3 separate regions of the Homo sapiens genome follow, and all the other regions are linked to region 1. The links are contacts of gene promoters, found by promoter capture Hi-C in blood cells and fetal thymus (Javierre and others, 2016). All regions are on one chromosome and are shown on one strand. The core of a region is centred on a gene start or on the middle of the fragment in contact, and the rest is flanking DNA. Distances in the headings are between cores, read along the strand shown.

What was found. The method cuts DNA at HindIII sites, captures the fragments that hold promoters and counts their contacts. A CHiCAGO score of 5 or more calls a contact.
Region 2: a fragment that was not itself captured here is called in contact with the fragment with the promoter of PARL in region 1 in 3 of 17 cell types (naive B cells, total B cells and total CD8 T cells); the score reaches 7.6 in naive B cells.
Region 3: a contact is called between a fragment that was not itself captured here and the fragment with the promoter of PARL in region 1, in 1 of 17 cell types (fetal thymus). The highest score is 6.8, in fetal thymus.

What each region holds. Positions count from the first base shown.
Region 1 is chr3:183,883,363-183,886,785 of GRCh38, forward strand. It overlaps PARL (presenilin associated rhomboid like), which reads right to left and starts at 1,518. Exons shown (of 10, transcript NM_018622.7): 1 at 1,360-1,518. The coding sequence starts at 1,484. RefSeq lists silencers at 1,278-1,437, 1,548-1,698 and enhancers at 1,648-1,697, 1,738-1,967. The HindIII fragment of the contact is 9,960 bases long and covers 1-3,423 here.
Region 2 is chr3:184,523,364-184,526,775 of GRCh38, forward strand. The region is part of intron 6 of LINC01839 (long intergenic non-protein coding RNA 1839); the gene reads left to right. Among named protein-coding and RNA genes, the nearest start is that of LINC01840, 32 kb to the right of the region's middle. RefSeq lists enhancers at 1,633-2,437, 2,438-3,240. The HindIII fragment of the contact is 249 bases long and covers 1,649-1,897 here.
Region 3 is chr3:183,121,150-183,124,364 of GRCh38, forward strand. It overlaps LAMP3 (lysosomal associated membrane protein 3), which reads right to left. Exons shown (of 6, transcript NM_014398.4): 6 at 1,066-3,065. The coding sequence ends at 2,932. Among named protein-coding and RNA genes, the nearest start is that of MCCC1, 23 kb to the left of the region's middle. The HindIII fragment of the contact is 3,732 bases long and covers 1-3,164 here.

The DNA of each region.
Region 1 (3,423 bases), core at 268-2,767:
GGTTCAAGCCATTCTCCTGCCTCAGGCTCCCGAGTAGCTGGGATTACAGGCGCCCGCCACCATGCCCCGCTAATTTCTTGTATTTTTAGTAGAGACGGGGTTTTGCAATGTTGGCCAGGCTGGTCTTGAACTCCTAACTTCAGGTGATCCACCTGCCTCAGCCTCCCAAAGTGCTAGGATTACAGGCGTGTGAGCCACCACGCCCGGCCAGTATTAATCTTTTCTTTCCCCCTTAAACCATGCAATCTCAAATGGGATTACCACCTCCATCTGTCCTCATTTTCCACCTCCCCAGGAGTTTAAGATTAGTGCCTGACAGATCTATGTTAGTGTATGAAGATACAATGTATGTAAAGTTTTCACAAGTCCCTGATAAAATTCACCTGGAATGCTTGTCGGACATATAGGTTCTTCCACTCCACCCACCCCTCTCCTGATTGTGATTTGGGAGGACTGGGGTGAGGCCTGGGACATAAAATCCATACAAACTCTTCAGGTGATCCTTGAGATTAGGCAATGGCTCCGCCACATTAGAGCCTCGATTATTTACCACTGACTATCCCACGTGTTGATAAACAATGTTTCTTATCAGCAATCAGGTGGATTCGAGGCACCCATCTAACCAAGTCAGAAATTGGAAGGAATGAAGTTTTGAACAAAAGAGGAGGAAAATTTTCAAAGCCAAATGCACATCAGATTCTTAAACAGGTGAGGAATTTCTCTCTTCTCTCTCAAATTAGAAATGAATTACTGTGATGCAAAAATCAGCAATACTGATCAACCATACGCTTCACACTTCTACTCGGAAGGTTCGGCAGTTTTCTTTCCAAATCAACCGGAAACGAAATCTTCCACTGTCTCAATTCAACAATAAAGCCTCTCCTACGACTTTGCCAGACACAAAGTGATACCTTCCATCAGACTTCGTCCTCCCTTAGATCACAAGCTAAAGAAGGCGACTGGTTGTAATGGAACACAACCTTTATAATTAGATGGAAAAAGAATAAAAACCGCCATTCTGCCAGCTGTACTAACTTCTTCACTTCAGAAACTGGCTCAACAGTTTCCACTCGCGATTATGAAGTGTGGCACGCAATGAACCCTCAGCTTAGTTCCCCTTCCAGTCACGTCCTTCCCAATGGGAAAGGAGAAAGCGCAGGCTCGCGGGGGGCTGGGCTGGGCAAGGGGAGCGAGAAGCGAGGACTGGACGGAGGCGAGAGAGGAGAGAGAAGGGGCAGGTAAGGTGAAGGGGGTGAGCTGGGGCCAGCACAAGAGGCCCAGACGGCCTCCGCCCCCGAGGATACACGGCCAGAGCTCAGGGACCAAGAGGCGAGAAGACCAGAGCGCGGCGGCTATTACCTGCGTCCGAGGAGCTGCGGCGGGGTTAGGACCGCAGTGAGCTCCTCGCAGCTGCGGCCGCCCACCGACGCACCCCACGCCTGGCCGCAGCCCCAGCCTCTCTGCGCCCAGCCTCGCCACGCCATCTTCCCAACCTCTGCCCCACCATGGCCCGACCTTACCAACCCCAGCTGCGCAACTACTTCCGGGGCGAAGGCAACACCATAGAGCACGAGGAGCAGTCTAGAGCGCCCCCGCGCGGCTGAGCGGCAGCCGAACCAGCCACGGTGCCCGGACGACTGGCTGGCGCCCTTCTGTCCCACCGCTTCCCCTCCCACTGCTCAGCTGGCTCCGGGAGCGACCTGCGAGAGTGGCCCGGCCTCCCGGCATTTGCAGATGAGGAGGATGGGGCCAGAGCGAAGAGGGACAACTGTCATTTTTTCGAGTAACGGCACATACCAGGCGCTTTGCCTAAGATCGCATTTAATCGTCACAGCACTGCTAGAGGTAGATGTCATCACTGTTTCACTTTGCCTCTGGTCAGAGGGGATAGGACTTGCCCGGAGTTGCAGGGCTGGTCCCTAGAGGAACCAACGTGGCAAGCCAAGTTTTCTTAAATTACTACTTTTTTCTGCATCTCACCACTTCGTGTTATTCTGTATGCCTTTAACAAAGTCCAAGCCTATCGGGCGGGGTGGCTCACCCCTTTAATCCCAGCACTTTGGGAGGCCGAGGCCGGCGGATCACCTGAGGTCAGGAGTTCGATACCAGCCCGGCCAACATGGTGAAACCCCGTCTCTACTAAAAATACAAAAATTAGCCGGGCATGGTGGCAGGGGCCTGTAATCCCAGCTACTCAGTTGGCTGAGGCAGGAGTATTGCTTGAACCTGGGAGGCGGAGGTTGCAGTGAGCCGAGATTGGACCACTGCACTCCAGCCTAGGTGACAGAGCGAGATCCGTCTCAAAAAAATTACAAATACAAATACAAAAATTAGCTGGGCGTGGTGGCGCAAACCTGTAATCCCAGCTACTCGAGAGGCTGAGGTGGGAGAATCACTTGAACTCGGGAGGTTGCAGTGAGCCGATATCGTGCCAGCCTGGGCAACAGAGTGAGACCCTTTCTCATAAATAAATAAGTAAATAAACACAAAATCCAAGCCTGAAATGAAAAGCGGGCTTTCACTTTTTCATAATCCATCCCTCAACTACCTGTCAGTTAGCTTGATTCCCTGCCATTCCATTCCCCCCGACCCTAGCTGCAGCCATACAGTCATTGGCCATTACTCAAAGGCACCATCCGCGTTCCCACTGCTGAGCATTCATGCTACCGTTCTCACCACTTGAAACATCTAACCGACTTGTCCTTCAGGTCAGCCTCAAGTGTCACCTCTTCCAGGAGGCCTTTCCCAGACCTCCACTCCAATTTAGATTCCCTTCCTTTGTACTCACATACCGCTTTATGCTTATCTCTGCAATAGCACTTCATTCATTCCATAAGCTCTTATTAAGCACCTACAGTGTGTCAGGTGATATGTTAAACCTGGGGATACAATTGAGAAGACACTATATCTGACCTCACAAAGATTCTATTGTATTGGGGGAGAAGGCTCTGTAGGAGTCTAGAGAGGGGGGATATAGCCCAATTGAAGGAAGGGGCATGGGAGGCTCAGGGAGAAGGCTTCCCAGAGAAACTGATAGAGGTCACCAAGAGAAGAGGATTGAAGTGTTCCTCAGAAAGAATAGCATTTGTGATGTCTCCCAGCGCACGACTTGTTTGAAAAACTAAAATAAATTCACGCCTTTTCCACACAACCCAGAGAGGGGCCCATACGGCATTGTTCTAGATTCTCTGTGGGCGGCAAGCCATCCAGGTGCCGAGGCAAGAGACCAAGGGCACGAGCTGTTCCAGTATAATAAAATATATAAAACAACAAGAGTTATACTAGATCTAGATCATAGACGTGATTATATATGAATATCATTAATCATCAGTTTGTAGCAATTATTCTTTATTCCAATATTATAATAATCCTCGCTCTATAATCATAACCTAGGAAAAACCGGGCCATACAGAGGCAGGAGCT
Region 2 (3,412 bases), core at 523-3,022, 640 kb after region 1:
CAGAAACAGACCACCACTTACTGGGAAATTTGATTTATGGCAAAGCCAGCATTGCAGATGACTGGAAAAGGATGAGCTGTCCAATAAATGCTTTGACAATTATTATCCAAGGAGAAAGATGATCTCTCCACCACACCTTTACAAAGAATCAAATCCAGATAGATGTAAGACCAAATATAAAACGACAAAATTTAAAAACTTTTAGAAGAAAGTGTAGGGAAACTTATATCTTGGAAGAGGAAAAGGTACTTTAACCATGTCAACCAAAGTACAAACTTTAAAGAAAGAGGTAAATTAGAATATGTGCAGATGTAAATTTTCTGTGTCTTGAAAGACATCACAAATAGTTATAAGATAAGCCATGGAGTGAATGACAATATTTGCAACTCATCCATCTGATGAAAGATTAAGATACAAAATTTATAAAGAATTCTTAAAAACCAACAAGAAAATGTCAACAACCAATAGAAAAATAGGAAAAAGTTATGATCAAGACTTTACAGTATAAAAAATACCAATAAACATAGGAACAAATGCCTGACCTCTAACCCCATGGTAATTAGGGAAATGCAAATTTAAACCATGAGAAGTAACCACACCCATTACACTGGAAAAGAACTGACGTGATGAGAGGCAGTGTTGAGGGCTGGGAGTGTTACTACAATGACTCATCTGCTGCTGGCAAGATCGCTTTGGAGAACGACTGGGCAGTAATTTGTAGCACTGAAGTTAGGCATCCCTTGCAATGTCTGTGGCCAATGCTAGGTGCACTCCATAGAAACTCACATGTGCACAAGAAGACACAGACCAGAATGTTCATCGCGGCACTGTTTGTAATAAGAACAAAATGGAAACATTCTAAATTTTCACAGCAGGAGAATGGATCAATACATTTAGTATGATATTAACAAGTCTACTATACTGCAGTGAAAATGATTTTTTATTTCTTAAAAAACAACAAACATATGTAGTGCCATGTGCCAGGCTCTGCTCTACGTTTTTGAGAAATATTAAGTCATATTTACTGAATGAACCAGAGCCAGATTCATCAACATGAGTCGACATGGATGAATCCCCAGAGCACCAAGTTGACTTAAAAAAGCAAGTCAAAGGAGTGTGCATAATACTTTGTCATATATGTCAAGTTTGAAATACTTATATAATGTTTAGGAATCCACTCATATGTAATAAAGATAGTGAGAAGTCACCTCAGGGATGAGGGTGAGGAAGGTGGTGAAGAGGGTCCCTAAGGGGCTTCAGCAGTGAGGTTGCTCCATTCCCCATGATTATTGATGGGTAAGTTCTTCTCTATACCTTGATATGTATCTGAAATAGTTCATAAAAAAGTTTTTTCAAAAGAAAAAAAAAGCACCCATTCCTATTTAAAATGTATTTCTTCCAGTCTTTCCACTATGCTTAGTTTATATACTTGTGATTATCTTGTGTATACAAACTCACCTTGTGCCTTTTACAGAATGAGAAAATTTCCTTATACTATCGAAAACTTTTCAGAAATGTTATCAATGACAGAATGATATCACAACTGTGGATACACCATAATGTATTTATCAGTGCCCAACTAGTTGATTCCAATTTTAGATAATTTTTTTTCTCATTTTTCAGTGCAAAGAATGTCTGTGTCCATAAAAGCTTTGGGGGAATATTTGGGATTATTTCTTCTGATGCATGACCACTACTAGAACCACAATATCAAACAGTGTGAGCATTCAAAGACTCTAACTCTGTATTATTACATTTTGCCAAAACAGCTAGACCAGTTCCGCCCCCCTCCCCCGTCCCTGACTGTGCCCGGATCACTCCACTTCCTCTGTAGCTCTGTCAGCCCTAAACAGTTTCCTTTTAAAAAGCCCTTACTATTTTGATCGGTGACAATGGAAGCTTATTTGTATTGTTTTGAGAACACCCCCCACAAACGCACGTAAAACCTCTATAAAGGGAGAACCGCCTTGCTGCTGAGGGCGCGGTGGGACCCGTCGCAGGGCCAGCTGCTCCGGCAGGTGCCCCCAAAGGGTCCCGCAGGTGATCCTCGGGGACTGAGCGCCCATCGCCCTTCCTACGCACTCAGATCCGCCGAGCCCAGCGCCCGCCAGAGCCCAGAGAGTCCTCGGGGTCAGAGTGGTCACGTCACCGTCATTCTTTTCCTGCCCGACTAGTCGCTCTGGGCTCCCCGGGGCCGGGGGCCGGGGGCCGAGCCGCCGCCCCGATTCCGGCTTCACCCGCCCGCAGCGCGCGGCGCCCCGCGCTCCATTCGCGCTACCTGGCGGCTGGCAGGCTGCCCCACCCCACCGCGGGCCACACACAGCCAGGGTGGGACCCCGGCCGCTTTCTCTTTCCCAGGGAGAGGACTGGAATTTGGGGGGGAGGTGGGAATTGAGGAAGTCGGGAAGGGAGGAGTAGAGAGGTGGGTGAGAAGGGGGAGGATGCTTCTAGAAGGCGGGTGAGGGAGCTGGGGAGGCCAGGAAGGGGAGGAAGGGGTAAGAGGTGCGGGAGGGCCTAACGGGGAGACTCCGGGGGCAATCAGTGGGTATTCACAGGGAGCTGGGCGCGAGCATCAGCGGGATGAAAGGCAGGTCAGGGCTTGCCCGTCAGGTCCGGACTGCGCCCTGGAGGGGCTCCCAGTAGAGCCTGCGCAGGAGCGCGGGGAGCGCGCAGCCCAGGCCTCTGGCCAGGTGGAGCAAGAGGAGGGCGGAGGTGGACAGCGCATCTCGCCCGTGGAGGACGGGCAAGGACGCCGCCTGCCCAGCTGTTGGAGTCTCCTGGGCACGGACTGAGGGGGAGGGTCTGAAGAGCCCAGAGATCCCAGAGGGACCAGCTTCTTGTTACAGGGAAAATCCTCACCACCGAGAGATGCAATGAGTGAATCACGGTCTAGCCCTGTTTGGGAGACTCTGTGGCCATTAAAAATGGCGATGCTCCCCAGAGTGTGTGGGGCACAGGAATCCTCTAGGGGGCTTACGAAAATGCAGATTCCGGTTCGGGCCTGACATTCTGCTCTTCTCACAAGCCCCCTGGCTCCTGCTATTGATGTAGAGCTAGCTTTAGATTGTACGGTAAAGGGAAAACCAGTAGGTGTGGGATGAGCCCATTTTGGTTCTTTGAAAAATGTGTTTCTTACACAAACACACAAACACATATACATATGCAGGAAATAAGATGCAAAAAACAAGAAAACACCAACTATGTTTTTCCCTAAGAGATGGGATTCTAGTCGATCTAAATTTTCTACTTTTTGCTTATCTCTATTTCCTGAATTTTCTTCAGTAAACATACATTCCTATTGTAAGAAAAAAGATTCTCGCAAAACCGTAGAAGTTACTTATTTCAAGGAGAGTGTAGGAGTCAAGGGAAAGCCTCCTTTGAAGGTTTACTAAAAATCACTGACAAAAGGCAG
Region 3 (3,215 bases), core at 49-2,548, 760 kb before region 1:
CCTCGTGGATGGATTAATGCTATTATTACAAGTGTGGGGCCCCCTCTTGCTCTCTCTTCTGTGTCCTCGCACCATGTGATGCCTTTTACCATGTTACAAGGCAGCAAGAAGATGCACATCAGATTTGGCCCTTCCATCTTGGACTTCCCAGGCTCCAGAACCATGACCAAATCAACTTCTATTGCTTGTAAGTTATCAAAAAATCTGTGGTATTCTGTGATAATGGCACAGAATGGACTAAAATCTGATATTCGAGCCCTTGTGTAGTCCCCTTCCACAGTGTACCAGAGATGGTTTGTGTGAACCATAAACAGACATGCGATAGTATGTTTCTTCTGTGATTAGGTTATAAAAATATGACGGCTTTCATCTTGGTCAGTCTCTCTCTCTCTCTTTTTTTTTGAGATGGAGTCTCGCTCTGTCGCCCAGGCTGGAGTGCAGTGGCATGATCTCGGCTCACTGCAACCTCTGTCTCCCGGGATCAAGCGATTCTTCTGCCTCAGCCTCCCGAGTAGCTGGGACTACAGGTGCACACCACCATGCCCAGCTAATTTGTTTGTACTTTTAGTAGAGACGGAGTTTCACCATATTGGCCAGGTTGGTCTCAAACTCCTGACCTCGTGACCTGACTGCCTCGGCCTCCCAAAGTGCTGGGATTACAGGTGTCAGCCACCGCTCCCAGCCCTCTCTCTCTTTCTCTCAGATCACTATGGGTAACTAATATAGGACCTCTTATTTATCTCAGCTCCTACAAGAGTATCTGGCATTTAGCAAATCCTTATCAATGCTGATCAAATGAATGAATGAACAAACGTGGCGACATTTAAGCAAACTAGTAATGCAGTCAGTCTAAGCTAAGAGTTGAGACATTTCATATGTAACTTTAATGTGGTTTATCTTCTCAGGAATTCCTACCAAGTGATAATGTGGCAATGGAGAATAGAATGAAACAAATTATAGAAAGATGATTTAACTTATTGATCGGAGCAAAAACCTAAGATGATTGTAAACAAAATTTATACAGCACAAAAATGAATCATAAAAAATAAATGACATGCACAAATCTCCAAAGTAAGTTTTTATTACAAAAACCTTTACTACAATTCAATGTTTTATTAAGACTAAAGTCAGGACCTTGCCAACTTACTGAGTCATAAGGAAACACATGAGGAAAGTCAACATGGTCTCTAGGCTGACTTGAATTATTCCTTGACTAAGAATTCTAGGGTTATGTGGACTTTTCTGTTAACATCCTGACTTAGTTCCTTTCTTTAGCAGCAAAAAAAACAGCAGAAATAAAATTCTTGGCAGGCTGCTCTACAGAATAAAGTGAACAATAGGAAATATGGATATGAAGTGCAGAAGCAGCAAGTTACCACAAGATGGGGCTATACACTCAAGAAAGAACAGTTGGTTAGCGAAGTTTCTCTATTATCAAAAAAATTTAAAAATACTTTGAGTTTATTTGATGCCTTCATCTTTACAGCCCAGCTAAGCAATCCCATAAAAATGAGCAACTGACTAATGTTTTACAAAGCCCCTCAGTCTCCTTCCAGAGAGTGGAGGATTTATTAAGGATAGGCTATTTTGTTATCTGCAAAGCTCTCCTTTCATCTACCCTAATGTCTCATGATCCTGGATAAACCCATTTCCCTGTAAGGTGAGCGTATGCTGGTATGAGGTGTGAGCCTTCAGGCAGAGTGTGGTGTCATTGTTCTTGTAGGTAACTTGGTGTAGGGAGAAGACCAAAGACCTTGATGTCAGACCAACATGAATTCAAGCTCTGGCTCTGCCATCAGTTAGCCAGGTGACATTTAAGTGATTCAGTTCCCTTAAGTCTCAGTTTACTCATTCACCTATAAGTTGTGAGAATGAAATGAGATATAGATAAAGTGCTTAGCCTAGACTCTGGCACTTTGTTAATAATTAAGGGCCATTATTATTGTCTCTTGCTTATTGTTTAGTTCTACCATCTGTAGCCACCTAATTCTTAGTCTAGCGATTCTGGAGCAGGAGTCATCAAGATAAAAAATATAAGCTGATTTGTTCTTTTTGTTGGTTTTACATAAAAACACTTAGACAACCTGAGATATGTTGTTCTTTTTGATGATTAAAAAAAACATTTAAGGCCGGGCGCAATGGCTCATGCCTGTAATCCCAGCACTTTGGGAGGCTGAGGTGGGTGGATCACCTGAGGTCAAGAGTTCAAGACCAGTCTGGCCAACATGGTGAAACCCCGTCTATAATAAAAATACAAAAATTAGCCAGGCGTGGTAGTGTGTGCCTGTAATCCCAGCTACTCGGGAAGCTGAAGCAGGAGAATCACTTGAACCCGGGAGGCGGAGGTTGCCATAAGCCGAGATCGTGCCACTGTACTCCAGCCTGGGTGACAAGAGTGAAACTCCGTCTCAAAAAACAAAAACAAATTTAAAGTGGAAAAGGAGTTAAGTGCTACACCAGGAATATGTATGTTACATGAAACCATAAAACACAGATAGTAAAAGCACTGAAAGTCCATTTGATAACAAAGCAAAGGCTTTGTTAAGATCAAGGGTAAAATAAAATCTTCAATGCACACACAGTAGTATTAGTTACAATTGACCCTTGGTTTATAATTTGAAGGCTTATTCTACTTTACATATATTATGTTAATTCAACATATCTCAAATGTTGACTTTGAGTGGCTAAAATATTCTAAAGGAAACTAGAAAATAAACAGCTCACTATATCTTTCATAAAATAAACAAAAAGTATTTAGAAATTGATGTGCTGCCTGAACTTAAATCACACATGACTCACTTCATTTGAATAGAAGATGGTGGTTTACATTGTTTGAAGGACCCACACTCTGAGGGAATTTCCCAACATCCATCCTGGAAGGGATGAAAGAGTTCTCTAAATTCCATTATTTTCATTCCCCCCGGGCAACAATTAGATTCTCTGGTATCCAGATGATTGACACCTTAGGCGGATTTTATAGACACCCATACCCATAAGGCAGAGACCAACCACGATGGCCCCAATCACAGGAAGCACAATTGTGTAGTCAGACGAGCACTCATCCACTAAGAGAGAAAACAAATACAATACAGTGGGTAAGGTTTGGTGATGCAGTCCAGAAAGCAGGCTAGAGGGGAAAGAAGATGAGCTTTGGCATCAAACAAAGCTTGACTTTTAACTCCACCATTAACTAGCTTTGTGACCTTGGGCAGGTA